Linked DNA regions of Homo sapiens: region 1 is linked to region 2. The links are contacts of gene promoters, found by promoter capture Hi-C in blood cells and fetal thymus (Javierre and others, 2016). All regions are on one chromosome and are shown on one strand. The core of a region is centred on a gene start or on the middle of the fragment in contact, and the rest is flanking DNA. Distances in the headings are between cores, read along the strand shown. Region 1 has its middle 12 kb from the start of ALAS1. Region 2 holds the start of GPR62 (G protein-coupled receptor 62).

Evidence for each region. Contacts are between HindIII fragments. The CHiCAGO score rates a contact against its expected background, and 5 or more counts as called.
Region 1: a fragment that was not itself captured here is called in contact with the fragment with the promoter of GPR62 in region 2 in 1 of 17 cell types (neutrophils); the score reaches 5.7 in neutrophils.

The regions. Positions count from the first base shown.
Region 1 is chr3:52,184,782-52,187,585 of GRCh38, forward strand. No RefSeq gene overlaps it. Among named protein-coding and RNA genes, the nearest start is that of ALAS1, 12 kb to the right of the region's middle. RefSeq lists an enhancer at 1-573. The HindIII fragment of the contact is 3,900 bases long and covers 1-2,804 here.
Region 2 is chr3:51,954,024-51,956,808 of GRCh38, forward strand. It overlaps GPR62 (G protein-coupled receptor 62), which reads left to right and starts at 1,358. Exons shown (of 1, transcript NM_080865.4): 1 at 1,358-2,785. The coding sequence starts at 1,630. The coding sequence ends at 2,736. RefSeq lists an enhancer at 2,018-2,606. The HindIII fragment of the contact is 13,748 bases long and covers 1-2,785 here.

The sequences.
Region 1 (2,804 bases), core at 65-2,564, 230 kb after region 2:
CACTTGCGGTAGGGAGGTGGAGGTGAGGGGTGAAGCAGAGCAACCCTGCGGCCCTGCACAGCTCAGCCCGTGTGTGTGACCCTATGTATGATGACGTCCCAATCATGGCACACCATGGCTGCACATGTGTGCCTCTGTGACAAGGTCACAGCCCCCGAGGCACGCTGTGACTACACCATGTATCTAACTGTCACAAGGTGCTGCTATCCCTATGACCAGAGTGGTTGGCCATGTGGCCATGTGTGAAAGGGTGTTTGTGACCCTGGGCAGCTGTGGGCCTGGGATTCTGCATGTATTTGAGAGACCTTCAGGGTGTGCACGTAGGAATGTGACCAGCAGACCACGCTGCCAGACACTAGGCCCTAAGAACTTCCAAACTTGAAATGTCACTTCAGAGTGGCCAGCAGTCTTCTGTCTGCTAAGACACAGGCAGGCTGTGGAAAACTATTTTCTAGATGTTGTTACACAAATATAGAGTGAGAGCCCTTCTGCTGCACAGCTATGGTCATCTTCTGAGGTGGTGGTCAAGGAAGAGAGCGGGAGAGGGACCAGGAGGGGGAACGAGGGTCTGACTGCAGCCTCCACCCCAGCTGAGCTTCAAGGGGCTTCAGTTGACTCCTGACCACACCGTCCACAGACCAGGCTGAGATCAGAGGTGGCCTATCCCAGGGTGAGCTTAGGGAGAGCCATTGGAGAGGATGACATAGACACCCGGGAGGGCCCATGGGAGCTTGCGTATGCATGGGTGGCAGTGGAGTGGCAGAGTGTCGGGACATGGACACTTACAGATCTCCCCAAGGAAGGCTCCTGAAGATGCTCAACTGGGCCCCTAGTAAATGGCCTTGCTCCATTTCCCCTGGCCTTCTCCAGGCCATCTGCTGACCAGCCATCTGACCCTAGCTTTCCACACTCACCTCTTTGCTGACACAACCTGCCCACAAATGGCCCCATCTCTGGGCCCACAAACGGCCCTATCTCTGGGGCCTAAGGACCCACCCACACACACTCACTTGCACATAGTTCACAGATAATCCTCATTTATTTACCCACTCCATTCATTCATGCATTTATTCATATGTTCATTCATTCATTCAACAAATGCTCATTGGGTACCTCTTGTGAGCCACCAGCCCTGCTGAACTTCTCCAACTCCCCAGGTCAGAGAAATGAAGGCACAGTCCCAGTGGACCCCGGTGTGAGTAGCTCAGCAAAGAGGAACCTGGAGGCTGAGTGGGCTGATGGCCGTTAGCTAGGGGGAAGCACTGAGGGGTGTCACAACCAGGCCACTGCATCAAGCTGGATGGGCTTTGGAGATTGGGTAAACACTGTGGCTGCCTTCCCCCAACCCCAGGCTGGATCTGGCACCTAATGAGTCGGGGTTGAGTCCCAAGGCTTCAGAGCTGTCTTCTAATCCCAAAGCCTACAGAACAAGACCCATCCCTTGGATGGTTCTCAGGGCCCCCTCAGTTGGGCCCAGATTGCCTTAGCTGCCCCCATGCCCCCTTCCCACCAGCTACACCAGATAATGTAAGTTCCCTGAAGGCTTGGAGGACTATGGCCTTCCAGCTCCTCCGCATTGCCCCCTCCCAAGGGGGCCTGGAGCCCAGCTTCCAAGGCTCCCCATATCCCCCCAACTTCTCTGCCATGCCTCCTTGCTCACATTTCAGTCATGATAATAGTAATCATAATTAGATCTATCCAGCACCTCCTTGGCACTGGGCATGGATGGGTGATTATTTCCAACCCTCCCATATTCCAAAGCATAGTGGCCAGAGCTGGAGGTGACCAAGAGTGTTGCACTAGATCCCCCAGCCTGGGGCACTGGTCAGCTCCTGGCCTCCTCCACCCCAAATCATCGCCAGCTTGGCTCCTTCTCCTTCAGGACTCACCCTAAACATCCTCTCCTCAGAGAGGCCTCTCCAAGCCTCCAAACAGAGCAGCCACTGTCCTTGTCACTCAGAGCACCATGTGAGCTCTCACCCTCACAAGATTATGTGTCTGGATGGCGTGTCCTTCTGGACATCTGTCTCCCCCACCAAAGTGTCCACTCCGCGAGAATAGGGACTACATCTACCTTGTTCATAGCTGCCATCCCGGAACCTAGTTCAACACTAGGCAAACAGTAGGTACACAGTAAGTATTTGCTGAATAAAAAAAGCCTATTGATCCATTTCCTGGAAGCTGCCTCACTCCATCAAGGATCTGAGGCCACTCACAAGAACACACTCAATTCAAGAGGAGAGAAAAAGAAAAAAAAACATAAAGTTGGAATAAAAGATTCTGACCTGGCCGGGCGCGGTGGCTCACCCCTGTAATCCCAGCACTTTGGGAGGCCGAGACGGGGATCACGAGGTCAGGAGATCAAGACCATCCTGGCTAACGTGGTAAAACCCCGTCTCTACTAAAAATACACACACAAAAAATAATTAGCTGGGCATGGTGTGGGGCGCCTGTAGTCCCAGCTGCTCGGGAAGCTGAGGCAGGAGAATGGTGTGAACCCGGGAGGCGGAGCTTGCAGTGAGCCGAGATCGTGCTACTACACTCCAGCCTGGGCAACAGAGAGAGACTCCGTCTCAAAAAAAAAAAAAAGATTCTGACATTTGACCTGGTGGTTTTGTTTCTTCTTTTTTTTTTTTTGAGATGGAGGAGTTTCACTCTGTCACCCAGGCTGGAGCACAATGGCGTGATCTCGGCTCACTGCAACTTCCGCCACCCGGGTTCAAGCAATTCTCCTGCCTCAGCCTCCAGAGTAGCTGGGATTATAGGCGACTACCATCATGCCTGGCTAATTTTTGTATTTTTAG
Region 2 (2,785 bases), core at 108-2,607:
TAGAAGGATGCTGAAATGGTCCAGGTGAGAGGTGGTGGTAGCTGGGACCAGCTTGATGGTGATGGTGAGAAATGGCAGGATTCCAGAGACCTCAGCGGACTGGATATAGGGCGTGGGGGAGAGGGAATCATCCTGAGATGGACACTAAGATGGAGAAGATTCTGGGAGGAGCAGGTTGTCGGGGAGGGATCAAGAGTCATGGTTCTGTTTTGGACATAGGAAGTTTGAGATACCCATTAGTGAAAGTCCTGGTGGGGAAATGTTGAAAAGGCAGCTGGATACCCGTGAAAAGAGGAAGAGGCTTCAGATACAAATGCAAGCTATCAGACTATAGATAGGGTTTTGCCATGAAACTGGGTGACTTTGCCTGGGGGCATATGCCCCACGGGAGTTACATGGCTTTCCATGAGCCAACGACATTGGGGTGGGGAACCCTGACATTCACTGATTAGTCAAGACTGGGTTTTGTGCCTAATCAGGAAAATAGAGTGTGGGGATCTTGTTCACCCAAATTTCCTGTCCTGAGAATTGGGGAGGGGTGGTTTCCTAAAGAAAATTCAGGGTGTTTAGCCAGGTGTGGTGGCTCGTGCCTGTAGTTCCAGCTACTCAGGAGGCTGAGGTGGGAGGATCGTTTGAGCCTGGGAGGCAGAGATTACAGTGAGCCAAGATTGTGCCACTGCATTCCAGCCTGGGCAACAGAGACCCTGTCTCAAAAAAAAAAAAAAAGGAAAGAAAATTCAGGGTGCTGTTACCAAAAGGGGACCTGTTTGCTAGCAGCAAAAACAAAAGCAAACAACAGCAACAAAAAACCAAACAGCATCTGCCTGCTAAGGCCTCCTCTCACTCATCTCACACACTATCATGGAGCACCTATTCTCTATGAAGTTAATATTAGCTGAGCACCTACTATGTGCCACGTTCTATGCTTTTCTCTCACTTTTCCAGCCTCCTTTCTTTCTGAGAGAACTAGCCCTCTTGGGGGGCCAGGGCATGCCTAAGGGTCCTCCTGCTTCAGCTTTTGTCTCACTGGTACCTCAGTTTCCCTTTAATATGAGAGCTAAATGCTCATCCCATTGATGAGGATGGGGCAGGACAGGAGATGGGGGGGGCACTTCTCACCACTGAGAAAGGTAGAGCAGGCTCTGGCTGACTCCAAAGCCCACACTCTAACCCTCTCAAGTCTAGGCTCCAAGTCTGTGCCTGCTCTGTCCTCCACCCCTCCACCCTAGAGGCACCCCCAAGCACTTCCACAGCAGAGCCTCCAGCCTTCAGCTGGCAGCTGCTAGGACCCAGGGGGCTGGCGCCAGGCCCTGCCCCTCCCTTGCCAGCCGTGTGTGGCAACATCAGAGTGACAGCCAGTACCATCTCCGACAGGGGCTGAGTTGCTGGAGCTGGGCTGGGGCAGGGGAGAAAGACAGCAGACTCATCCTTGCACCCCTCCATGGGCCTGGCCAAGCCCCCAAGAGGATGGCAGCCTGGGCGTCGGAGCCACCTCCTGGGCAGCCAATGAGGTGAGGGGCCGGAGGAGCAAGGGACAAGAGGAGCAGAGGACAGGTGATGGAAATCCTGCAGCTTTAGGCTCCATTCTGCCATCTACATCCCAGCGCAGGGTGAAGCCTGAGAGCCCAAATGGCCAACTCCACAGGGCTGAACGCCTCAGAAGTCGCAGGCTCGTTGGGGTTGATCCTGGCAGCTGTCGTGGAGGTGGGGGCACTGCTGGGCAACGGCGCGCTGCTGGTCGTGGTGCTGCGCACGCCGGGACTGCGCGACGCGCTCTACCTGGCGCACCTGTGCGTCGTGGACCTGCTGGCGGCCGCCTCCATCATGCCGCTGGGCCTGCTGGCCGCACCGCCGCCCGGGCTGGGCCGCGTGCGCCTGGGCCCCGCGCCATGCCGCGCCGCTCGCTTCCTCTCCGCCGCTCTGCTGCCGGCCTGCACGCTCGGGGTGGCCGCACTTGGCCTGGCACGCTACCGCCTCATCGTGCACCCGCTGCGGCCAGGCTCGCGGCCGCCGCCTGTGCTCGTGCTCACCGCCGTGTGGGCCGCGGCGGGACTGCTGGGCGCGCTCTCCCTGCTCGGCACGCCGCCCGCACCGCCCCCTGCTCCTGCTCGCTGCTCGGTCCTGGCTGGGGGCCTCGGGCCCTTCCGGCCGCTCTGGGCCCTGCTGGCCTTCGCGCTGCCCGCCCTCCTGCTGCTCGGCGCCTACGGCGGCATCTTCGTGGTGGCGCGTCGCGCTGCCCTGAGGCCCCCACGGCCGGCGCGCGGGTCCCGACTCCACTCGGACTCTCTGGATAGCCGCCTTTCCATCTTGCCGCCGCTCCGGCCTCGCCTGCCCGGGGGCAAGGCGGCCCTGGCCCCAGCGCTGGCCGTGGGCCAATTTGCAGCCTGCTGGCTGCCTTATGGCTGCGCGTGCCTGGCGCCCGCAGCGCGGGCCGCGGAAGCCGAAGCGGCTGTCACCTGGGTCGCCTACTCGGCCTTCGCGGCTCACCCCTTCCTGTACGGGCTGCTGCAGCGCCCCGTGCGCTTGGCACTGGGCCGCCTCTCTCGCCGTGCACTGCCTGGACCTGTGCGGGCCTGCACTCCGCAAGCCTGGCACCCGCGGGCACTCTTGCAATGCCTCCAGAGACCCCCAGAGGGCCCTGCCGTAGGCCCTTCTGAGGCTCCAGAACAGACCCCCGAGTTGGCAGGAGGGCGGAGCCCCGCATACCAGGGGCCACCTGAGAGTTCTCTCTCCTGAGCAGGAGAAAGGAGGGTGGTTTCCGTGGGGGCTCATCCAACCCCTGCAC